Regions from separate parts of the Homo sapiens genome. Here all the other regions are linked to region 6. Evidence: promoter capture Hi-C in 16 types of primary human blood cells and fetal thymus (Javierre and others, 2016). All regions are on one chromosome and are shown on one strand. Each heading gives the region's core, a stretch centred on a gene start or on the middle of the fragment in contact. The rest is flanking DNA. Distances are from core to core; before and after follow the strand shown.

Region 1 (3,694 bases), core at 627-3,126, 360 kb after region 6:
TCATGTTCTATTTTTCTTAAAATATTACCTACCAATGGGTCCAGTTATGGGTCAGTTTACTTAGATGTGAGTTTCATCTGTCTTATTGTGAAGATTGCCTTAAGTGAAAGATGTAGGGACCTGTCTTTGGTTTTGGCTTACCTATGAGTAAGAAATACGATGAACTAAATCCTCTGATCTTTCTGTCATTACTTTCCTAAGATGTCTAATTTCACTTTATAGTGTGTTGGAAAGACCATACCTAGAAATTAGGAGGAGGATAGCAGTCATATATTAAATTAAGTTTATGGTCTCCCAGTGAATATAATGTTAACTATAATCAGGCAAACGTTGTTTGCTTTCAGGAACACTGCAACAAAACACTAAGTGCATACTAGAAAGACTTTAGCTTATTAAAAATGGCTCCGAATTCTAAAATTGTCTAAATGCCTTCTAATGAGGCCACAGGAGATTGCATTTTTAAGAAACAATCTTACGTACATTTAAATGTAAATTTTCCAGAAATCCTAATCTTTAATAATTATAACCCTCAGCTACAATTATCAAAGAGGGATGTATCTGTCCTTAGTTGCCATTCTTAAATTTAAATAAATGTAGGGGCAGGAAACCATCTATCCAACCACTTAATATAGCAGTCAGGAAGGAAATCTTTATAAGCAGAACTTAGTTCTTTGTTAACCAAAGTGAAGTTACACTCACCTACCGGTTTTTATTTGATATTAAATACTTCGGATAATTTTAGTAAACTCTTTTAGAAAGGCAGACTGAAAATACATAGAATTTTTGCTCTGAATACTGTAGCAGGAAAGTTAGTATAATAACATTTAAGAAAATATTTTTTATTTAATTCTGCAAATTAGAGATGCCAGGATAAAAATGGGGGTCGTGGTTTTAAAGTGTGTTATGGGAAAAAATAGTACTATTGTTCAGTTTGGAAGTTGTTTAAAATCTTTTTGAAATTTCTCCTAGAGTCTTGGAAATTCACAGAGAGAATATGAAAAGCAGGTTGTCCTGTACAGTATCCGCAATCAGTTACGATATAGAAATAACTTAGGTAAGTAGAGCCATGTTTATATTGGGGTGGAACTGACCACTACTCTTTCACATTCGTAAATCTTTCTTTTCAATACATATTTCATAGTACTGAGATTATTCCATGTACAGACTTTAAGAAACTCTACACTGATCCATTCCACCTAACAACAATTTGTATTAGCAAGTAGATTTTTCATTCTAATTCTGATAAAAATTATTTTTAGAGTACTGTTTATGGACTCATTTTATCTATAAAATAATCTTAATTCAAATGTCCTCTTTTTGCCTGAGGTAAGAAAATATGCCATAAAAGAAAAAGTATATTAGTTCTTAGTAATTTTTGACTTTGGGTTGTCTCCATAAATTTTCCAAATAATATGAAAAACTTTATAATAATTGGGACACATTTTAAACATAGTTCATTCCATGATTTTTTTTTCTTCTTTCTAAAAAAAAATTTGTTTATTTATCAGATTATTTTGGTTAGTCTATTCTGTTGCCCTGGTAGTCTTTCACTCCTGTTTGTTACTCTTATTTTAAGCATAATATTTCTGACATTGTTTTTCTTCATGAACATTTTCCATGAAAGTCAGAGGGCTTTTTACATTTAAAAACTAAAAAAGCAGCAAATAATTTTTAAAAATAGACTTGACTTCATTGAAAACGAGCATTCAGTTTGGCTCTCTTGTAAGGTAGTAGAATACAATTCAATAAAGCTCTGTTTTGTACCTTTTTGGGGGGCATGCTGGTAGTTCCATGCTTGTTTTCTCATTTGGCAAGAATTATTCTCTACTAATCTGTCCTATTATTCATTTTACTTCTATACTCTAAAATCTATTTCATGTGATATATTTCTTTGTTCCAACTTAGAATATTTTATTTGTTCTCTTGTAATTTACATACTTTTCTTTTAAATTACTGTTGGTTTGTAAAGTGTTCATAGTTAATATATAACTATAAGAAACCTGAAAAAAACTGGAGAATTTCCCTCTTTTGTGCAGTTAAACATGTCAAGAAAGATGAACGCAGATACTATGAGGAACTGCTAAAGTACAGCCGAGATCATCTCATGCTGTACCCTTACCATCTATCGGATATTATGGTGAAAGGCTTGAGGATAACACCATTTTCATATTATACTGGGATTATGGAGGTGAGTTTACAGTGTGGGTGAGCCAGTGGGAATGGGATGGGACTACATGTCTGGGACTTTTTGCAGATGTTCACCAGCTCTTCAGCTGTCGTCTGCGGTGGACACTCTTTCAGAACTTATAGTGTAAAAAGGACTATTGGTGGCTTGTTAACTGTTTGAGCCACACTGTACAAGTACTTATCCTTATTGATGTTTTTACATTGGGAAGCTGTCTATTTCTCTTCTGGTCTTGAAGGTGCTATTGACCCTTTGTGCTGTTGTAGTACTGATCAGTCATTTATGTTGGCAGAGTCTGTGTAAAATTTATTGCTTTTTAAAACGTGATTAAGGTTGAAAATGTGGGTGACAGAATTGAACATTATGTTCTGAGAAAATTAATGTATTTAGGCTGGGAGCAGTGGTTCACGCCTGTAATCCCAGCACTTTGGGAGGCCAAGGTGGGTGGATCATGAGGTCAGGAGATCAAGACCATCCTGGCCAACATGGTGAAACCCCGTCTCTACTAAAAGTACAAAAATTAGCCAGCCGTGGTGGTGTGCACCTGTAATCCTAGCTACTCAGGAGGCTGAGGGGGGAGAATCGCTTGAACCTGGGAGGTGGAGGTTGCAGTGAGCCGAGATAGCGCCACTGCACTCCAGCCTGGGTGACACAGTGAGACTGTCTCAAAAGAAAAAAAAGAAAAGAAAAGAAAATTAATGTATTTAACTATTCACTAACTGTCTAAAGAATGAATGATGACATAGACCCAACATTATATAATACAGGTGCCAGAAAAGAGAAATATGTTAGTAGTCTTGGCTGTTAATCTCTTTCTATAATTATTAACTTTTAGTTGTTAGCCTTTTTCCAAAGACAGCTTTTAGGCTTGTATTGGATAACTTTAATACTAGTTATATACTGTTTTCAAGTGAGCTTTATTAAAGATTGGCAGTATTTATTTAGTATTCATTTGCTCCTTAATTATGTTTGAGTGCTTCTGTTTGGGGCTCACTAGCCGCTTGAAGAGCAGAGAGGAGCCTAGAACTAAAGGAGTTGGGAACGTGTGGTAACATGAGGTTAGCCCTACATACGATGTGTGCTTTGCTGTTTGCTCCCTTCGTTATCTCCAGAAGCCCCTCCTTCATGGGTGCTTCTGCAGTCCCATGCATCCCGTGTTCCTCTTTTGGAGGAAATACTGGAGGAAAGCGAGAGGCCCGATAGCCCAGGTAGCATAGTGAAGAACCAGGGTAGCATAATGAAGGTGGCAGCTAATCAGGAAGTAGAATAGTTACTGCTGTCTCTTTATTTTTCTAGTGTAGTCCACAAATTTGGGAGCTAAAATAGGTGGAGTTTTTGTTTCACTTATCAGCTTTCATTTCAGTTACATCCACATGGTTGCTGCATTCTGGTTTCTGTTATTCTATCATTGGGTATAGTTCCTCGGTAGAAAACGGGCCTTATCCCCACAGGAAGCAGTGGGTTTGTTATTGGAGAAACAGATTGGGGCAGAAAAAGCTGGATACCAAG
Region 2 (3,627 bases), core at 949-3,448, 310 kb after region 6:
ATAGAGGGGCCATTCACATCTGAAGCATGAATCTTGGGTGATTAGTGACATATTGGTTTCATTAAGTCATAAAACTACCCAACAGAAAAAAATATATTTGGCAGTATACCCTGTTGGGTATATTTAAGCACAGTTTGAATACGAATATTTGGTATTTCATCATGTAGTTATTGCTGTTTTCATTAGGATTCTCCAGGATCTCACACCGACTAAAAGCAAGCCAATTCCTTCATGCCTAGAACCTCTTCCCACATTAGAAGTTTATTAATCTGCGGGGGTTGATCAGAGAGCTGTTGGGAAAGTGTGTTAGGAAACTTGAGCTCTGCCCACCTTAGTAGGGTGCTGGAATGTTACAGAGTTGTTCATTGCTGTTGATACCTCCTTTCCAAGATGCAGTATTACAGTGACTTACATGATGACTAAGTGTTTGGCTATCACTCTAAAGGGGCAGAAATATTTGTATCATTTAACAACTAAAACTAAAACTAGAAAAACATCCATTTGGATCACAGCTCAACATGATTTGCTTGCATATGTTGACTGTATGTTCTGAAAAATGAGTTCAGTTCTTTAGATTAAAACATGACCTTTCTATTACATTTGGGATTGCTTCCATGTTGGCATTTCAGCACCTTTTAATGAAGATTGGTATAGTTAGGTCATTTTCCAGAAAGACAAGCTTCCTTAGGCTATGCCATCTGGGTTACACGTGTTGATGTGATATTTACTTATCAAAGGTGACTGCAGGGCTGGGTAGGAGTTAGGAGACCTGACTTGAAGGCCCTTCAATATGCTGTGCCTTAAACTGGTGGGCACCATTGTACCTGAAGGTACTGATGGTATCCTCAGGAGTGTAAACAATGTGGGCATCCTGCCATGCACTGAGCTGTGGTATAGGGAGTCCAAGTGGGGTAGCCCTTTTGGGGGCTACACCCAAACAGAGGAGAGGTGAGCCAATCAGCTCCTGAAGGTTCCAGCCTGTGTCTTTCCAGGGGAGCACTGCTCATCTAGGCAGGAAATCCAGCAGCCCAGCAGCCTTTTTACTGAGGGTTTCTGCAGTGAAACCCTTCTCACTCTGGTATAAGAACTACTATTTGATCCAGCAATCTCACTACTGGGTATCTACCTAGAGGAAAAGGAGTCATTATATGAAAAAGATACTTGCACATGCATATTAATAGCAGCACAATTTGCGATTGTAAAAGTGTGGAACCAACCCAAATGCCCATCAATCAATGAGTGGATAAAGAAGCTGTGGTATATATATACAATAGACTACTACTCATCCATAAAAAGGAATGAATTAATGGCATTTGCAGCAACCTGGATGGGATCGGAGAATACTATTCTAAGTGAAGTAACTCAGGAACAGAAAACCAAACATCATATGTTCTCACTCATAAGTGGGAGCTAAGCTATGAGGACGGAAAGGCATAAGAATGATACAATGGATTTTTGGGACTTGGGGGAAAGGGTGGGAGAGGGTAAGGAATAAAAAACTACAAATAGGGTTCAGTGTATACTGCTCGGGTGATGGGTGCACCAAAATCTCACAAATGACCACTGAAGAACTTACTCATGTAACCAAATACCACCTGTTCCCCCAAAACCTACAGAAATAAAGAATTTTTAAAAAAGAAGAAGTTGTTACTCATGGGCTAACAGTTTTGAGAAAAACTGCTGCCTCTTGGCTGCTGCTGTCATCAACAGGAGGATAAGGGTCAATCTTCAGGAGAAGCTGACTTTTCTCTGTTATAAGAGAAGAAATCAGTGTAGGGACATGCCTGGGCCAGAAGGGCAGGAATGGTGATTTCTGGTGGAGATCCAGTGACATAAAGACATTCTGAGGACATCTGCCCTGGAGCCTTGTTTTCCCATTTAAGCGGTGGTTCTCAATAAACCAGGAGCGATTTTTGTCTCCCAGGAGACAATTGGCAATGTCTGGAGACATTTTCAGTTGGCACGAGTAGGGGAGTATTACTGGAATATCTAGTGATAGAGGCCAGGATTCTGCTAAACATCCTTCAGTAATGCACAGAACAGACAGCCCCCCTCCCCCCGCCCACACACACACAAATAATTACCTGGTCCCAAATGTCAGCAGTGCCAAGGACGAATGTGCCAAGGGTCCACAACCCTGGCTGAATGGTTGTAACGATTCTGTCAACGGGTCTCTTTAAAAAGTGTGGAGAAGGCCAAGCCTCTGGTGGTAAACGGCACACAGGTGCTGACTAAAGCAAGGCCTCCAGTCACCAAGGGCAAATTGCTGTGGTAACTTAAAAGGGAAGAATAGAAATGGACCATGATGTCTTACATTCTTTAATTTTTTTGCAAAGAAACCCAGATGACAAATCTGAAAGATGAGTGCTGAGATAAGGTAACTAGGAGGAAGGTGTGAGCTGAGATCAGTTCAAAGTGAGAAACCTGTTGTCACCTCCTGCTTCTTTGTCTGCATCAAGATTGTTGTGAACATCCCAGCCTATACCGGCAGGGCAACGTGCCCAAGTGACATCTCTCTGTTGACTCATTCTTAGGGGCCCTTGAGTGCTGTGTTGGGCTGGAGAACTTGGAGTTTCTAGTAGAGGCAGAATAACATTCATTATGTGGAAACAAGATTTTGTGTCCTGGGGAAAATGACTGTCTGCTTTGAGGTTGTCCACAGATTGTTTGGGGAGTTGGAGACCTCTGAAGAGTGCTAAACTTCCAGATATCCAATTACCACTGTATTGCATCAACAAAAGAGAACTTGGAGGATAAAGTGGTTGTGTGGAGATGATGGATATTTCTCAACCGTGAAAGGAACCATGCTTTCAGGAGTTATGAAAAATGAAGCACGTTTCTCATTAGAAAAGAATGATCCATTTCCTTCTTATATTGCCAAAGGTCGTCTTTTGCCAATTCAATGAGAGTATGAACATGGGATTCATTACTTGCAGGAAAAAAGGTAGCAAGTGTACTCTGGAATCCTCAAGAGTCAATGATAAGTGGGCAGATGGAATTGAAAAGTGAGAATATTGGGGGCTGAGCGGGGCCTTCATGGCATCAAATGTGCTGTGTAGCAGGATGCAGTCAACAGTATGTGGACAAGTTCTGATTTGCTGAAAAGGAAACAAGGTAAAATAGCTAAATTTGCTTTGAGCAAATTTCTGTCTCAATCAGTATCAAAACAATGAATGTTATTCTTTCCCTTGGTAGAAGAGTTTATGCATTGGATCCAAAAAAATTAATTCTTTTAGTTAATTAATTAATTTTTAGTCTATTATTTCTTTAAAATTATCTTTAACATTTTATCTTCCTTTTCATTCCTACTACAACCATCCAAGTCCCCATTATTTGGAAAGAGAATTATTTTCTCCCTTTCTATCTGATTTTCAAGTTTGCATCCTCCTTCTATTTCAGTCCATCTAGTAGTATTAGTATCAGTAGTGGTAGTAGTAATAGCAGTAGTATATTAATAAATATAATAGTTATAAGAAAGCGGTGATGATAAAGATAAGGCCAACCTTACTTACTATGATTATTCACAGGGTAGGTCCATGACCCAAGCCAACTGGAATTCTTCCCTGACATCTTACAGATACTTAGAGAAAGAAGAGATTTTCCTTGAGGCTGCTAATCTGGAGCTAT
Region 3 (3,537 bases), core at 971-3,470, 290 kb after region 6:
AGGGACTACAGGCACACACCACCATGCCCAGCTAATTTTTTATTTTTGGTAGAGATGAAGGTCTCAACTGGTCTCAAACTCCTGGGCTCAAGTGATCCTCCTGCCTTGGCCTCCCAAAGTGTTGGGATTACAGGTGTGAGCCACCTTGCCTGGACTGACTTTTCATATTGGTAGGGTGAATGTGTCTTGGGAGGCTACTGGAGTTAGGGATGTTGACAGGGATAAAAATTCAGCTTCAGGCCAGGCACGGTGGCTCACACCTGTAATCCTGGCACTTTGGGCTGATGTGGGCAGATCACGAAGTCAGGAGTTTGAGACTAGCCTGACCAAAATTAAAATACAAAAATTTTACTAAAAACACAAAAATTAGCTGGGCATGGTGGCGCGTGCCTGTAATCCCAGCTACTCAGGAGGCTGAGGCAGGAGAATCGCTTGAACCCGGGAGGCAGAGGTTACAGTGAGCCAAGATTATGCCACTACACTCCAGCCTGGGCAACAGAGTGAGACTCCGTCTCAAAACAAAACAAAACAACAACAACAAAAAAAACCACACACACATTCAGCTTCATGCATTCAATTAAATGCAGTTGAACTGAAGATGCACTTATTTTCATCAAAAATTACATTGACGCACCTAATAGTAAGGAGAGAAGCAGAAAAAGCACAAAAGCACAGCCATTTGGGCCATTTAGTGTACAAGCAAATAGCTCTATTTATGGCACTGGGTCCTCCAGGAATGGATACTGTTCTTGAAGTCAGGAGACTTGGATGTGAGACTTGGATGTGAGTCCTGGTTCTCTTTTTTTTTTTTAGGTGTGTGATTTTGTAAAATGGAAACAATCATAGCTATCATAGCTTTTTCCTGTATTGGTACATGCTGGCATTATCCTGACTGATTCTCCCAGCAACCTGAGAAGGGAGCTAAGTTATCATCTTCTTTCTATCCATGAAAAGACCAAGGCCTGAAGCAATTGTTACCTGCTCAGTATCAAATAAATAGGAAAACCCATCTTCATCTTTCTATATATCTATTTATACCTACAGTGATTGAAATGGTAAAAGTTTGAAAAATATAAATGAGAATACAGCATAATAATTGATATTCATTTTGCATAATGATAATTCTAATGACATTAAGAAAAGTTTAAGTTGTGTTCATTACATATTAATAAAGAAATAAGAAAGCCTAATGCATACTTGAAGACTTCTCTCTATAAAATTATTTTCAACAATAAAAAGAATGAAAGAAAAGAAAGAAAATGTAAAGAAAAATAGGTGTTGATAGCTTAATAAAATGGAGAGTTTTTTTGGTAGTTTTCTGTAACAATCGCTTATGAAAAATTCCTGTATAAAGACCCACTTGTGGAAACTGATTTTCAAATTACTGATCTAGCTACATATGTACAGTTAGTCCCAATTAAGTGAAAAAAAGACTAGGGTCTTCATAGAAAAATGAAGTCAATTTAAGAAATGAGTTTAAGAGTATTGATTTTACAGGCTATTGAGTTAACAAAGCAATTTCAGTTTTTCTGAACTCCATTAATGCTTTTAAGTGGTTATTTCACTTTTCCTCCTGGGCTGACTCAATAAAGCTATAAAGATATTCTGCGTGGCCTGGGGACATGAGGAAGCCGAGACGGCTGAGGCCATGGCTGGGTGCAAGCTTGCTGACCACCCCTGGAATCACCTTGCCGTACGTTGCCTTGTACTTTTGCTTGATTTGTTGCCTCTCATCTGATGTCCTGCCCGATAAGATTTCAATGATGGCTGCTTCATTGGTCCCTAAAATACAGGAGAAACAAACAAAGCCACAGTGAATAAGAAACAAGGTGGAAGTTTATTTTAGTCCAGGGTGAGGAAGCCAGGACTCACAGCTTAAAGGTGGTTGGAGGTGTCTATGGAACCCAACGGACCCTTAGCTTTGATGCCTTGTGCTGAAAACTGTATTCTTTTCATTCACTTAGACAAATAGCCATTGAGGCCTCACAGCACATGGCACACAGTGCTAGGCATTGTGGTGGAAAGAGGAACGAGTATGGCTGGTTCCTTAATTTTATTCCTAGGGAAATGAAAACATATGTCCACCCAACAATTGCATGTGAATGTTCATAGCAGCATTACTCATAATAGCTCAAACGTGGAAGCAGCCCCAGTGTTCATCACCTGAAGATGAATAAACAAAATATGGGGTATCCATACAATGGAATGTTATTTGGCCAGAAAAAGGAATAAATTACTGATAGATGTTATAACATGGATGAACCTTGAGAACATTATGCTAAGTGAAAGAAGTCAATCATAGCAGATCACATGTTATATAATTCCATTCGTATGAAAGTCCGGAACAGGAGAATATACAGAGGCTGGAAGTATACTAGTGGCTGGGGGTGGGTGGGCTGCCTAGGGGGATGGTAGCTGGAGTCCAGGGCTGCTTTTTGAAGTGATGAAAATGTTCTAAAATTGACTGTGGTGGTGGTTGCATGCATCTGTGAGTATAATAAAAACTGTTGAATTGAACACTTTAAATGGGTGAATTATATGGTGCATGAATTATATCTCAATTAAAATGTTTTAAAAAACAAAAAGGAAAAAGATGGCCTGTTCCTTGGCCTCTGGGTGCTTACAATTGCATGAACAAGATTAGGATATAGGCTGAAACTGTTACAATATTAACCCCACCCATACATTTGTTAATCTCAGGAGAGAAGTCTTGATTGAAACCATGAAGGGAGGTTGCCCCTTTTAACTCCTATTACCTTTAGATTATGTTATTTTTAGAAGCTTTTTTACCCCTGATGCTCAAAGTAATACAAGCTCATGGCAGCAATTTGATCAGTACTGAAAACTATAGTGAATAAGAAAGAAGGGGAGAATGTCCTTGTTTGAACCAGGAACCAGGATCGGAAAGATGACACAGGTATTTCCAGTGTGCGAATAAGAAAGACGGTTTTACCATCAAACCCCACATTAGATTTATTCAGGTTGGACTCAAATCACAGCTCCACCCTGTACCGACTGCATGACATTGGGCAAGTGATTTTTCTTGCCAAGTCTCAGTTTTCCCACCTCTAAGATGAGGGTAATAGTATACAAGGCTATTGTGAGAATGAAATGCGAGAATCCAAGTGTGGGTCCAGTCCGCGGTGGTCCTAAGCACGCACGTGGGAAACCCGGGACACCAGGGGATGTAAATGACCACGCGCCTGGCACTGCCTCACATCCATGCAGGGTGTGCACAGGGACCACCCTCCATGAACTGCTCACCCCAGTGATCGAGCTCGGTGGGATCAAGGCACAGCAGTCAGCAATCTCTGGAGCTGGAGGAAATGTTAGAGACTATCTAGTCCAAGCTCTTCTTTACAGAAGAGGAAGCTGAGGCACAATGCAGCACCTCTTCTCGGTTCCTGCATGTACCTGACTGTTCTGCAGCATTTGAATTCTGCAGTCGGGAATTATTTTTTTTTTTTGAGACAGGGTCTGGCTATGTCACCCAGGCTAGAGCGCAGTGGCATGATCACTGCAACCTCCACCTCCTGG
Region 4 (3,625 bases), core at 634-3,133, 270 kb after region 6:
TGTCGGAGTGATCACGGAACCCTCACAAGCCCTTCGGATGGATCCAGTCTCTCTGGGGGTCATTTGGAATCCTGGGTCTTCATTGTGTTCAACCTGTCCCTTTTGAGTCCCTCAAGATCTCTCATCTCTCAGTGACTTTGGCTGGAGGTCGAGTTGCTAACAGACAGAGGGACGGACAAGGCAGAAGACCTGGAGAGAAAGGAGGGAGAGGGATTTGGAGCCATGGAGGAGAGAGGCAGAGGCATGGCAGGAGCAGAGCAGAGAGACTGGCAAAGGGAAAGAGGGGAGAGAGAGAGACATGGCCTTCAATAGAAAAAGATGAGTTGTGGAGGAGGAGAAAGGAGGGGAGGAGAAATTCCAGGAATAGAAATAAAAAAGCAAGAACCATCTTGTTGCAAAGTTATATTTAAAAACAGTGTCAGATGTTAAGCATTATTTGTTAAGAAGCCATGGATCAGAATTTGGGTTGGTGTCCCTCCCCCTTCACCTCCCCCTTCATTTAACCACTTTTTTTTTTTTTTTTTGAGGGAAGATGTCTGTGGTTTTCAAGTGCTTAGTTCCACTTCATTCCCCAAGGCTTCTCCTGCTGCCGATGAAATGCCACTTCCCCTTTATTTTGTACCACCTTCTGTCTGTGGCCCCATATCCCGAACTGTTAGCTGTGACCTTTTTTTTTTTTTTTTTTTTGAGACCGAGTCTCGCTCTGTTACTCAGACTGGAGTGTAGTGGCACCATCTTGGCTCACTGCAACCTCCACCTTCTGGGTTCAAGCAATTCTCATGCCTCAGCCTCCTGAGTAGCTGGGACTACAAGTGTGTGCCACCATGCCCAGCTAATTTTTGTATTTTTAGTAGTGACGGGGTTTCACCATGTTGGCCAGGCCGGTCTCGAACTCCTGACCTCAGGCGATCCACCCACCTCGGCCTCCCAAAGTGCTGGGATTACAGGCATGAGCCATTGCACCCGACCAGCTGTGATCTTGACGGCTGCTCCCAAGCCGTTGGCTCTTCCTCTCCCTTTTCTTTCTTATACATACACATTCTCCGAGAGCAAGCACAAATTGGTTTTTAGGGGGTGAAAAAGCCCTTAATTTTTTTATGTATAAAGCACTGATATCCACATGGTATATAAACAGATTTGTAGTATTATCTCTGGTGTTAACATTTCTTGTGGGGAAGGGATGGCAATGAAGAAACACGTGTCTAAAAAGGTTCCTTAGAACAGCAATAGTTTTTAAAAAGATTGAGAACCATTGCCTTATGCTGATGTGCTTGCTTCTGCAGTGTGTTCAGTTAAGGAAAGGCCTCACTCAGGAATTCAGAAATCATTCTCTTTTTGTTCCTGCTGCTGGTTGACCTCTTTCAAGTGTGTTTGTTTTGTCTTCCTTAACATGGAGCCATGCATAGCTGCAGCCCCTGAGAACTGCTCGACATGGTTGCCTCTGCGCCCCTCCACTAGCTCTCCAGAGCCACAGAGGACAAAAAAAGAAGCAACGATCATTATTGTATTTTTATAAAAAGAAACAGATTGAAGCAGAGCACAATGTCTTCTGCAAATTCTGGGAAGGCAAGGGGCCGTCTCTGTTTTACTTTTTCTGTAAATAGGCCCTTAATAGAAACTATTTGTTGATGACATCAGTGGTGGAAAAAAGAGAAGTTGCAGCCGCCTCTTTGGAGTCGGAGTGTGTCTTACCTCGGCCCTGGTCACGACTATGCGAATCAACGTCTCCTCATCGGTCCCCGCACCCTTCATCGACTTGTACAGACGTTCAGCAAAATAGTCCTCACAATCCTGGGCACATCTCACTGGGCAGGACAAAGGAAAAGAGAATGTGAGGCTTTCACGTTTTGTGGAATGACCTTGGGACCCCCCTAAATGTCACCTGGCTGCCCTTCGAGCTGACTGGATGGTGAGACAGAGGTGTGAAAAGAGCTGACTTGACACCGTTGCGAAATGAGATTTGGAAGATTCCCTGGTCAGAGCACCTGGAATCTTCAAGCATAGCTCCCCTCCTGTCCCCTGAAGACCCTCTAGAGGAGAGCTGTGGCATCCTCGGGCCCTCCCGGCCACGTCCATGATTCTCGTTATTTCCCAGCAGAAATAACTTTCCCTATCGAGTGAAATCTCTGGTGCTGTCCTAGGGTTCTGAAGGGAAACAGATTGGCCAGCAACCTTCTGGAACAAAACTTCATCATCTTGACAATGTATCCAGTTGGACAGCCGCCTGCTCTCCTATGCTCAACAACCTCCCTACTCTTTGTTTTTCCTCACTGGGGTTGTTTTGCAAGCCTCATCTCTGAACCTTTTCCAGGTTCCCCACGATCTTTTGGTTTGCAATCCGGGATGTGGACTTGATGAAATGTTTGATCCTTTTTAAAGATCACTTTCCTACGATGCTGCTATTTGCTCTTTCCTGGCTTCCCCTTGCCTTCCAGCTTTGATCTATCTACAGCTTAATGAAGCGTGGTCTCTATTCATCAAGCAGGTGACAGGGTGCATCTCTTCTCCTGGGAATAAATCATTCCTTCCCCTCTTCCCAGGCTCATATGAATCCATCATGGCTAACACGTTAGAGGAAAAAAAAAATATTTGCCCTTTAGGCTGTTAACATTTCTCTAGAACACTTGATGATGTTAGTGATTAACAGTAAGTGATTATTTCAGCATAAATGTGGAATGTGCAATCTTACTATGTCCCATAATGGGGCTGTTGTTGTCTAGGGGACTGTCTGTGTGATTGATGCTTATAAGCAGGGGAGAGGAGCAGAGTTCGGGAAGGAGAGTCTAGTTTGGGGACCAGCCGCCTTTTACAGGCCATGTGGCAGCTGCCACAGTTTCAGTGGAAAAGAAAATCGCACCGGAAAAGAAACAATGTCTGGCCTCTTTCTCCTGAGAACAACCCAAAAGCTGCTGGATTGGTGGTTCAGGGGAAACTTGCATGCTATTCTGGGGAGTAGCATATTCAAGACTTACTGTGATCCCCAGACAATTTGAGCTAATGAGCACCACAAAGTTTTCCTGAAAATCCTCTTCCATACAGCACGGCTTGATGTGGGGATCATTGTCTGCCTGAAGTCACCGTGTTCCGCTCCTGCACAGGGATCTTCTCCCTTGACATTCCTTCTACCTGATATTTCAGGAAGAAAACTCTCAACATTTCTCCTGTCTATAATCTATGCTTGGGGAACAACCTCTGTTGTTAGCAGCAGCAGGAATCTCTCAAAAGGCTGGGCAGGGATAGCCAAAGAAGATGTGGAATAAAATTATTCACTGCAGCCAGGCATGGTGGCTCACACCTGTAATCCCAGCGCTTTGGGAGGCCGAGGTGGGTGGATCATTTGAGGTCAGGAGTTCGAGACCAGCCTGGCCAACATGGTGAAACTCCGTCTCTACTAATAACATAAAAATTAGCCAGGCTTGGTAATCCCAGTTACTTGAGAAGCTGAGGCATGAGAACCACTTGAACCCGGGAGGCAGAGGTTGCAGTAAGCCAAGATTGCACCACTGCACTCTAACCTGGGTGACAGAGTGAAACTGTGTCTTAAAAAAAAAAAAAAGAAAGAAAGAAAGAAAGAAAAAAACCTCTTCACAGCAAATGGCAGGAAAGGCAGCCAGCCCGGTGCTCT
Region 5 (3,320 bases), core at 689-3,188, 380 kb after region 6:
AAAAGAAGTAGCAGCAATTTTAAGGTATTGATGAACTTTAATGGAGCTGTTGCCCTACTGGGCACTCTCAGTTTTGTGATAGTTGGGGGTTCCCAAACTTTAGTTGAATTGATGGTGTCAGAATTTCTACCCAGATGGGGATTTGGATTCAGTAGGTTTTGAGGTGTGGCATGGCACTCAGGAATGTGTGTTTTTTAAAAGATGATTCCAGTGCTCAGCTAGGCTTGGGCACCCCTGCATGAGCACTTGGCTCAAGTTCTTAGACATTCACAAGAGTTGTGTCTTGGGGCTTCATGGGTCCTCAATACCACTATAACGTTTAATTTTGATTAGTTTCATTTACCTAAAAACTATTTTTTCTGGCCAAGAACATCAGTTTCTTAATCATCTCCATTTTCATTTATTCTCTCACTAGCATCTGGCTTTCTTTTCAGCTCAATTTTAAAAATTGAGGGAGGATTCAGCTGTTACTTAACAAGCTGTCACATAGGTGAGAACAAACATGCTGGGTAGTTTACTTGAGTGAGGCTAGACTCACTTGGTATCAAGTGATTCACTTCTGCAGCCTTAATATGCCTTATCTGAAGAATTACAGATTGTTACATACTGGGGCTTTTGAGATCATTCATAAATAGTTAAAACTGAGAATATTAAATTGCCAAATGCCGAGAGTCCTAAGCACTTACTGGTAGGCATTTGTTGATGGATAACCATTTTTGGTTAATAAATACTAAATCATGTGATAAAGCAGTGGTGAGTGGCACAGTCTTGAGGATGTCTTTGGATATAAAACTCCTGGAATTTCTGGGACTTTTTAGTGATTTATGGAGATAATGTATTAGATGATTTGAAATACTCTGTTAAAGCTGTCTTGAAATACATTGTCCTTTCCTGCCTATCACAGAATGTGAGAACATTAGAGAGTACTAGTGACCAGTGAAGTGTAACTCCTATTATAGATAAAGAAATTGGAGTTTATATTAGCTAAATCTTCTGCTTGTTTTTTAGTCATCAAAGCCCATATTATTAGTAAATGGAAGAGCCAGGAATGGAAGACTTGAATCTGTGTCTGTTGATTTTTTTTTTTCCATTGCCCTGTCCCTATATTATCTTCTCTTGAACGCTAAGCTTTGTATTCATTTACCCATAAACATTTGTTGCTTAGTAGTCTGGGCTGGGCTAAATTTTTTCCCCATGAATAGTCAGTGTACCATGAAGTAAGTTAAATGGTAAATCTAAACCTATTCTCTATGAAAATAGTCCTGTGCAATCCTAACCTTTAAGGTGGGTTTAATGTTAGACTGTTCCTGACCCTAGTTGGAGATTTAATTGCTTAGAATAATTGCTGGGTCTCCAAAGTTAAATTTGATGAATGCCTCCCCTTAAGACCAAACCTGCAATTACTTATGAAATTTCATTTTTGCTACCAGCATTTCTTAGCTTAGCTCCTCATCTGAATTGCAGAACATGGAAATGATTGGCGTGACTATTTCTCAGTTTTTCTAATGATGGTGCACATTAGTACCGTTCTCAATGCATGAAAAAGGTCATTCGTTCTATGTAGAGGATATCTTAGGGCATTAAGGCTTCATGCTCAGCCTGTTGAGAAATGTTGCTTTCTGCAGTTACTGGGCTTGGTAACTGAACCTTACTCTTTTTTAGAAAAGAAATTCTCTGCCGGGTGTGGTGGCTCATGCCTGTATTCCCAGCACTTTGGGAGCTCGAGGCAGGCGGTTCACTTGAGGTCAGGAGTTCAACACCAGCATGGCCAACATGGTGAAAACTCGTGTTTACTAAAGATATAAAAATTAGCCAAGTGTGGTGGCAGGCACCTGTAATCTTAGCTGCTCGGGAGGCTGAGGCAGGAGAATTGCTTGAACCTGGGAGGCTGAGGTTGCAGTGAGCTGAAATGACACCACTGCACTCCAGCCTGGGTGACAGACTGAGACTCCGTCTCAGAAGAAAAAAAAGAAATCCTCTAGTATTGGTGTTTTAAGCGTCTTGTTTGAGGAAAAAGAATTTTCTTTTTATGTCACTAATAATTTATACTTTGAGTATATCATGTAGTACTTGTTATCTACTATAAAGCAAAAGCATTGTGATATTATACAAGCAAACTCTGTTATACATGGAACTAGTGTCTTAGTCCTAGGAGTCCTTAATCCCTTGGTTTTAAATAGCACGGCGTACTGTTTATAAATAAAAGTCATGCGTGGTCTGTTTTTTTCTCGTTTTCTAAGCATGATTTTTTTCCCCCAGGTATCTTTGTCTTTAAAAGGACATTGTTTAACTGTGATTAGTATAAGTCAGACATAAAAACCACTGTTTATAATTTGGCATTCTAGTACTGTGGAAATGTTTAGGAATTAAACCACATTTGTAGGAAAGCAATCACAGTTGTCAAGCTATTAGAAACGTGTTCTAACCACCATGAACTCTTTAGACTTCCTACTTTCCCTGTTGTAGTATACATTAAATATTATCTATACTTGACATTGATAATGTTGAATTTTGCCTGAGGGTTAAGACGTCCCTTCACTCTTTTGTGTTTTGGGAAGGGGCTTAGTGCAAGGACCCACTTTTTCCCCGTATGACTTAGATAAGATTCACAGGTGAATTCCCCACTCCCTTCTGTTCACCTATGACAAGGTCAGAAACAGATCCACCAAATTCCCTTTCTTTGCCTCATAAGCAGTGAGTTGAACTGCCTGTTCTGAATTATCAATCAGAACAAAATGCTTGTTAGCCAAAGCTTGTTTAAGCTTCTCTCCTTCTTCCAGCCCCATGAACTTTGACTCACCCTCAACCTAAGCCAGGATGTAGCCCTTCCTTTAGGACCCCTCCCAGAAAATATGCTGACGTTATGGTTAAACATTCTGTGATCTGCTATCCTATACCTCACCCTGTCATCCTACTTCCTCACACCCCATGCTTTCCATCTACCCTTCATTGGTGATGTTAATTTTGATCACCCAGTTAATGCATTGTCTGATTTTTCCACTGTATAGTCAACTATTTTTTTTCTCTCACAACTGATAAGCAATTGGTGGGGAGATACTTTGAGACCATGCAGATATCCCACTCCTCATCAGTGTTTCCTCCTAGATTTAGAATCCATTGGTGGTTCTTGCCTGAACCATTCTGTACTTTGATGGTTGGAAATTGGTAATTTTTCCCCCACTTGAGCAGTTCTGCCATATTTAGCAGTTGTGACCAGGCATTCTCTCGTATTCTCTGTATGAATTTATGAATTCTTATCTTTTCAGTAGTCTGCGATTAGTCATTATTGTCTCTCAATTATTTTCGTGCCCCAGTTTTCT
Region 6 (3,344 bases), core at 543-3,042:
TATTTTTGTTGTATAGGTCCTGTGTGATTTATGCTTTAACGAGGTTCTGTTTTGATGTGTTTCCAGGATTTGTTTCAAGATTTAGAACTCCTTTTAGCAGTTCCTGTAGTGGTGGCTTGGTAGTGGCAAATTCTCTCACCATTTGTCTGAAAAAGACTGTATCTTTCCTTAATATATGATGCTTAGTTTCGCTGGATACAAAATTATTGGCTGATAATTGTTTTGTTTGAGGAGGCTAAAGATAGGGCCCCAATCCCTTCTAGCTTATAGGGTTTCCCACTCACTTTAAAGGAGAAATGTTTACCAGAGTTGTTATATAGCATAGAGGCTATGTGGAAGTTTGTATTAGGAGCTGAGAGGCAATAAAATTGGTAATTGACACAGGAACTGTGCTCCAAGTCTTTAGGATTTATCAGCTTTGAGACTGAAGAGATTGGAGAATCCAACTGTGGATGGCTAAAATCAATGTAAACATCTCAGTTTTTATAATGGGAAGTACCCTGATTAGCTAGCTATGCTCATTGCAAATATAAACAATTCAGAAGACTGTAAAGTGTAAAGACCTTGAAACTGAAAGTCCCTGATATTAATATCATTCATTCACCAGAGATAAACACTATTTTTTTTTTTTGAGACGGAGTCTCACCCTGTTGCCCAGGCTGGAGTGCAATGGCACCATCTCGGCTCACTGCAACCTCCGCCTCCCGGGTTCAGGCGATTCTCTTGCCTCAGCCTCCCGAGTATCTGGGATTACAGGCGCGCGCCTCCACGCCCAACTAATTTTTGTATTTTTAGTAGAGACGGAGTTTCACCATGTTGGCCAGGCTCGTCTCGAACCCCTGACCTCGTGATCCACCCGCCTCGGTCTCCCAAAGTGCTGGGATTACAGGCGTGAGCCACCGCACCCGGCCCTAAACACTATTTTAACAATATGGTGTCTTTTCTTCCAGACTGCCAGTAATTGAACAAAATATATGATTAACACAAAAAGGATACCATATGGACTCTTTAAACTTTTTTTTTTCAAATTTACTGTATCAGGGAATTAATATATCTTTTCGAGCCAATAGCTACAGGCCTTCCAATTTAAAAGATTAAGTTACAATAGAGTGAGATTTGGGGTGCTATCCCTTTCGGAAAGCGTCCTCGATGCGGTCATATTGGAATTAACCTCCACTCCCCTCTTCTCTGGGCTCCCGCAGACTCCAGGCTGAGTGCAGAAGCGTGGATTTTCACACCCAAACCTCTGTTATTTCAGTGTCTCACCTGGCTTCTCCACAGCGCAGAAGCTCAGCCCCTGGTTGGAAGAGCCTCCCCGCGGAGATTCACAGCAAAGCGCCATTCAGGGCCCAACTCCAAGCCCAAACCTAGCTCCTCCCCAAGCCGCCGCCAGAGACCCCTCTTCTCCCAAAGCTCACCGGGGCCCCGCCCCTGACTCCGCCCACCAGAGCCCGGTCCTCCAGTCCCGCCCCATCCCGGGCCCCACCCACCAGCCGGGCTCCGCCTACCCGGAAGCGCGCTGTCCTCCTCGTCCCGGGCTCCGCCCACCGGGAGTTCGCGCCACTCACCCCACCCCGGACCCGCCCACTTCGCTTGGGCTCCACCCTCCCAGGAACTGGCGCCGCTTGCCCCGAGCTCCGCCTACTTCGTCCCGGGCTTCCCGCGCCGGGAACTCGTGCTGCTAGTCCCGCCCTGGCCCCGCCCACCGCGCTACTGGCCCCACCACCCGGAAACTGCCCCGGCCCTCTCCCCCCGGGCTCCGCCCACCCCACGCCGGGAACCCACGCGGGCCACTACAAGCCCGCCCTTTCCTACGTCTGGTCCAGTCGGTCTTCCTCCGGCCCGGGCCCTGGCCCAGCTAGCCGGCCATGGAAGGTAATGGCCCCGCTGCTGTCCACTACCAGCCGGCCAGCCCCCCGCGGGACGCCTGCGTCTACAGCAGCTGCTACTGGTGAGGGGGCGCGGGCGCAGCCTCTGGGTCTCCCAGGCTCCCGGGCGGCGAGTCGCAACCGGGCCCCGCCTCTTCCCGGCCCCTCCTCGGGGGCGCTCCCGGCCTCTACCGGCGGGTTCTACAGTTTTGCGGGAGGAGGGAGCGGGAATGGCAGCTCTCGTCTCTTGAGTAGAGCGTGGGCTATTGGATGGGGTTGGGAATTCGTCCGGAATCATAGGGTCGATAGTGCATTACCTGTGCCTGGCGCTTGTCGGTTGGATTTGCTCAGCAGATCTCTGCTTCGGGGCCAGGAAGGGTGGAGCTCTGAAAATCTTTGGGGGTTACTCTGCTGAAGCCTGTGGGGTTTCAGACTGAGGTGAAGGTCATTTTAATTTTGTAAGAGAATGAAGGCACGGAGAGTTTTTCATACAGCACTTGCTATATGCCACGCGTTGTTCTGGGTGGTTTAGGTAAACTAAATCACTGAGCATCACAATAACCGTAAGAGGTAGGTATTGTTATCCCCAGTTGAAAGATGAGAGCACTGAAGCACAGAGGGCTGCAAGTAATTTGCGCAGGGCCACGTAGCTTGTGAATGAAGGAGTGGGGATTTACAGTCAGGGTCTGGCCCCGGAATCCACGCAGTGCACCCCTGTCCTAGGCCACCTCTGCAGCTGAAGTACCGCCCTTGCCTTAGTCCTCATACCTACTCTTTCCTGAGTAATGGCTTCTTCCCCAGCTTCTAGTCCTTGTACAGGAAACCTCAGTGCTATCTAAACCTACTCCTCCCCCTTCTGCTGGTCACTAAACCAATGCCACCAAGAGCTTAACATTTGTTCGGCCCTGATTGCATGTCAGGCTCAGTGGCAGGTGCTTCCATCGATGTCCAGGAGGTACCTTCTTTTATTATCGTTATCCTCATTTTACTAATAAAAAGACTGAGCCACAGAGAGGCTGTTCTGTGCCCCCAAATCACACATCTAGCAAGTGGTGGTGCTGAAACTGGAACCTCTTCGTGATTCTGAAGTTCATGCATCTTAACTACTGCACTATTTTTCTGTCCTGCCTCTCTTCTAAATCCCGTTAGTTCTCCTCCCTAATGTCCAGTCATTGTTTTATTCATTCATTCAATAAATGTTTATTAGGCACTTGGAGTATGTGGCATACTTCTGGGCACTGGGGATATAGCAGTGAACAAAATCGACAAATTCCCTCATGGATCCCTTGGTTCTTTCATTTTGAGAGAAAAGCAGATAAGGCCCGGTGCGATGGCTCACGCCTGTAATTCCAGCACTTTGGGAGGCCGAGGTGGGCGGATCTCTTGAGGCCAGGAGTCTGAGACCAGCCTGGCCGACATGCAGAAACCCTGCCTCTACTAAAAATACAAAAATTAGCCAGGTGTGGTGGCGTGCAC
Region 7 (3,797 bases), core at 478-2,977, 340 kb after region 6:
ATCAATCTGGGCAAGAGTTTTTTGGATAAGACCTCAAAAGCACAGGGAACAAAAGCAAAAATAGATGTAGGAGATTACATCAAGCTAAGAAGCTTCTGCACAGCAAAGGAAATAATCAACACAGTGAAGAGACAACCTACAGAATGGTTAATATCTAGAATACATAACAAGCTCAACTCAATAGCAAAACAAAAACAAAAACAAAAACAATCAGATTTAAAAATGGGCAAAAGATCTGAATAGACATATCTCAAAGGAAGATATGCAAATGGCCAACAGGTATATGAAAAATTGCTCAACATAATTCATCATCAGGGAAATGCAAGTCAAAATCACAATGAGATATAACCTCACCCCAGTCAGAATAGCTATTACCAAATAGACAAAACAATAAATGCTGGCAAAGATGTGGAGAAAGGAGAAGTCTTATACACTATTGGTGGGAATGTCAATTAGTACAACTACTATGGAAAACAGCATGGAGTTTCATCAAAAAGTTAAAAATAGAGCTACCATATAACCCAACAATCCCACTAGTAGATACATATCCAAAGGAAATAAAACCAGTATGACAAAGAGATAACTGCACTCCCATGCATATTACAGCACTATTCATAATAGCCAAGATATAAAATCAACCTAAGTGTCCATCAGTGGATGTATTAGTCTGTTCTCATGCTGCTGATAAAGACATACCCAGGACTGGGTAATTTATAAAGAAAAAGAGGTTTAATGGACTCACAGTTCCATGTGGCTGGGTAGGCCTCACAATCATGGCAGAAGGTGAAAGGCACATCTTACATGGTGGCAGGCAAGAGAGAGCTTGTGCAGGGGAACCCCTCTTTATAAAACCATCTGATCTCGTGAGACTTATTCAGTATCACAGGAACAGCATCGAAAAGACCTGCCCTCGTGATTGAATGACCTCCTACCAGGTCTCTCCCACAACACATGGGAATTATAGGAGCTACAATTTGAGATTTGGGTGGGGACACGGCCAAACCATATCAACTGATAAATAAATTTTAAAAATATACACAATGGAACCCTATTCAGCTATAGAAAAGAATGAGATCCTGTCATTTTCAATAACATGAATGGACCTAGAGGACATTATGTTAAGTGAAATAAGCCATGAACAGAAGGACAAATACTGGATGACCTCAGTCATATCCACATATGAATCTAAAGAAGTTCATCCTGTAGAAGTAAAGAGTAGAACAGTGGTTATCTGAGGCTGAAGAGGGGAGAGGGAGATGGGAGAGGTTGGTCCACCTAGATAGGAGGAATAAGTTCTGGTGTTCTATTGCACAGTAGGGTGATTATAGCAAACAATGATGCATATTTCAAAATAGCTAGAAGAGGATTTTGAATATTCTCATCACAAAGAAATGACAAATGTTTGAGGTGATGGATATGCTAATTGCTCTGAGTTGATCATTACACAATGTATACATGTATTGAAACATCACATTGTACCCTATAAATATGTACAATTATTATGTGTTAATTGAAAAAATTTTTTTGAAGAGCCAACTTTTTTTTTCAGACTCAACTTTTTGTCAAGGTTTGACCCAGCATAAAGGAGCTAGAAATGCAGTATGCTAAAAAGGCACTGGCCTGGGTTCTAATCCTGACCTAGCCATGGCTGCGTTGTGCAGAACACAACTTTTGTGAGTCTCAGTTTCCTCATCTATAAAGTAAGAGTGTATCTGCCAGGGTTTTATTTGCAAACGATAGGAGCTGACACTGGCTGAATTAAGGATTTTTGAAAAAAGATTTACTAAACAATATAGGATCTCTCAACAAACATCTGAGAAGGCTACAGAACCAGGTCTGGAACTTCAGAGTCAGGAACAACACCAAAAACCATACACCAAAATTGGACAAGTGAGAAAATCCCTGCCACCTCAGCTGCCCAGGGCTGGATGTCCCTGCAGCCCCAGGAGCTCATCTTATTGGGACTGAGAAGATTCACACAGTCCCTGCTTCCTTTCAGCACCAGCTTCGGATTCAGACTCAAGCATGAGCATATCTGATCAATGCAGCTGAGGTCACATGCTCAGGTGTTAGGTGCAAAGGTAGCTGGGAGTGAGAATATTTGGCATTTATAGGGAGGTGGGTTCAGCCAAATGAATGGCAAAAAATCCCATAGAAAGGGGTTGGATATCTAAGTTCCTCTCTAAATCTGAGGCTGTGCATACCACTGATTTTCAGTAATTGCTGCGTCTCTGCCAATGGAGCACATGTGAGATGATTTTAGTTGGAACATACAAAAACCTTTACTTTGATAGCACTGCATTATTTCATGTATTTTAGGAAAATACAATTAAGATATCAAACCTGTGAATGACACAAAAGATTTGTACAAAGTGTGACAATTTAAAGAAGAGTCTTAAGTAAATGATAGTTTAGATGATACTCAAAAAATCGTATTATTCTTCAAATGACTGAGATTTTGGAAACTGGTCTAGGTAAATGCACATCTCTAAATTCCTTTTTGTGCCAAGTAATAGTAATAATATTGATGATAACAGTGATAACAAAAGTTTATACTTTTTAGTGTTGTGGGCCAGACTCTCTTCTAAGCACTTGACATGACTTGTGGTTTTTTTTTTTAACAGCATACCAACCTTATGAGACAGTTACTATTACTATCCCCATTTTACAGATAAGGAACCTGAGGCACAAAACAGTTAACCAGAAGTCACTCAGTACACAGTCAAATGGGGAGGTGAATTCAGGCCACTACCTTCTACCTGACAACGATATGAATAGATTGGACATGGCTTCCTGTAAAATTATTGTACCTAATATCTTAGCACTAATTGAGATTAGGGGTCAGAAGCATAAAGTGAATGCTTTTACAGTGCATTTTCATGCCAAGTGGTTTGTCATCTAGAGCAGGGTTCTCATCCTTCACTCTATTGACACTTTGGGCCAGATGCTCTTGATTGTGGGGGACTGTTGTATACACTGTAGCACAGCATCCCTGGCCCCTATCCATTAGATGCTAGTAGCACCTTCTCCAGTTGTAACAACCAAAAATGTCTCTGGACATAGCCAAATGTCCCCTGGGGACAAAACTGCCCCCAGTTGAGAACTACTGGTTTAGGGAGTCTGAAGTGTCTTAGTGAAGAGTCCATTAACAATCATCAGCATGATGCAATGGTGTGACCAATTTGCTCTGGTATGTTACCTTGTGTATTCTCTCACAGTACCATGTCATTATCTGTTAATAGCAGGTGTGCTTAGCTTCTCATATCAGCAATAAATATATGGTACCAGCTTGTACCAGCTATTGGTTTTCCATGCAATGTGTGGTGAATCTTTAACTTTATGGCTTACTTATCAATGGAACAATAAGCTTCTGATTTCCCTTGAATCCAGTGGCCACACACGGAGCAAGAAACTCTAAAGGTCCTCAATCTCTTTAAATATTTAAGCCAGCCCACATTTCTTTCCCTGACTTGGTGTTTTGTCACATTTGGAATTTTTTTTCGTTCTATGTAAACATAGGACAGATTATAAACTTAGCACACTCTCCATATTTAAATATGTTCATCAGGATTTTAAAGACAAGAATTAAAACAATGATCATGATATAATAATATATCATAAAACACTGAAGAGCTAAAAAATAAAAGGATAAATTATCACGTAGGTGGGGCTTTCTGGTCATTGACACGAGTCTAGCAAGAATGTCGCTTTATTCTTTTTATTTTAGTGTACCTTTTTCTTCCCTTACATTGCCCATATAGTCTCTGGAAGCCAAAACACCTTTTCCTCCAGTCCCT

What was found. The method cuts DNA at HindIII sites, captures the fragments that hold promoters and counts their contacts. A CHiCAGO score of 5 or more calls a contact.
Region 1: a fragment that was not itself captured here is called in contact with the fragment with the promoter of NTAQ1 in region 6 in 1 of 17 cell types (M2 macrophages); the score reaches 6.9 in M2 macrophages.
Region 2: a contact is called between a fragment that was not itself captured here and the fragment with the promoter of NTAQ1 in region 6, in 1 of 17 cell types (M1 macrophages). The highest score is 5.6, in M1 macrophages.
Region 3: a contact is called between a fragment that was not itself captured here and the fragment with the promoter of NTAQ1 in region 6, in 4 of 17 cell types (naive CD4 T cells, total CD8 T cells, erythroblasts and 1 more). The highest score is 6.8, in naive CD4 T cells.
Region 4: a fragment that was not itself captured here is called in contact with the fragment with the promoter of NTAQ1 in region 6 in 6 of 17 cell types (naive CD4 T cells, total CD4 T cells, non-activated CD4 T cells and 3 more); the score reaches 7.0 in naive CD4 T cells.
Region 5: a fragment that was not itself captured here is called in contact with the fragment with the promoter of NTAQ1 in region 6 in 1 of 17 cell types (M2 macrophages); the score reaches 5.0 in M2 macrophages.
Region 7: a fragment that was not itself captured here is called in contact with the fragment with the promoter of NTAQ1 in region 6 in 7 of 17 cell types (naive CD8 T cells, M1 macrophages, naive CD4 T cells and 4 more); the score reaches 6.5 in naive CD8 T cells.

What each region holds. Positions count from the first base shown.
Region 1 is chr8:123,773,111-123,776,804 of GRCh38, forward strand. FAM91A1 (family with sequence similarity 91 member A1) reads left to right here. Exons shown (of 24, transcript NM_144963.4): 2 at 970-1,054; 3 at 2,037-2,188. Among named protein-coding and RNA genes, the nearest start is that of FAM91A1, 6.5 kb to the left of the region's middle. The HindIII fragment of the contact is 5,525 bases long and covers 1-3,694 here.
Region 2 is chr8:123,725,585-123,729,211 of GRCh38, forward strand. All of the region lies in intron 1 of ANXA13 (annexin A13), which reads right to left. The region is part of intron 1 of LOC105375739 (a long non-coding RNA gene); the gene reads left to right. Among named protein-coding and RNA genes, the nearest start is that of ANXA13, 10 kb to the right of the region's middle. The HindIII fragment of the contact is 3,043 bases long and covers 678-3,627 here.
Region 3 is chr8:123,700,955-123,704,491 of GRCh38, forward strand. It overlaps ANXA13 (annexin A13), which reads right to left. Exons shown (of 11, transcript NM_004306.4): 3 at 1,688-1,782. Among named protein-coding and RNA genes, the nearest start is that of ANXA13, 35 kb to the right of the region's middle. The HindIII fragment of the contact is 1,118 bases long and covers 1,662-2,779 here.
Region 4 is chr8:123,682,918-123,686,542 of GRCh38, forward strand. ANXA13 (annexin A13) reads right to left here. Exons shown (of 11, transcript NM_004306.4): 10 at 1,693-1,805. Among named protein-coding and RNA genes, the nearest start is that of KLHL38, 31 kb to the left of the region's middle. The HindIII fragment of the contact is 5,117 bases long and covers 1-3,625 here.
Region 5 is chr8:123,790,218-123,793,537 of GRCh38, forward strand. All of the region lies in intron 15 of FAM91A1 (family with sequence similarity 91 member A1), which reads left to right. Among named protein-coding and RNA genes, the nearest start is that of FAM91A1, 23 kb to the left of the region's middle. The HindIII fragment of the contact is 1,624 bases long and covers 1,127-2,750 here.
Region 6 is chr8:123,414,982-123,418,325 of GRCh38, forward strand. It overlaps NTAQ1 (N-terminal glutamine amidase 1), which reads left to right and starts at 1,793. Exons shown (of 6, transcript NM_018024.3): 1 at 1,793-1,951. The coding sequence starts at 1,869. It also overlaps a transcript of ATAD2 not described here. RefSeq lists silencers at 1,372-1,851, 1,962-2,161, 2,482-2,531 and an enhancer at 1,965-2,559. The HindIII fragment of the contact is 17,257 bases long and covers 1-3,344 here.
Region 7 is chr8:123,756,271-123,760,067 of GRCh38, forward strand. The region is part of intron 1 of LOC105375739 (a long non-coding RNA gene); the gene reads left to right. Among named protein-coding and RNA genes, the nearest start is that of FAM91A1, 10 kb to the right of the region's middle. The HindIII fragment of the contact is 3,275 bases long and covers 91-3,365 here.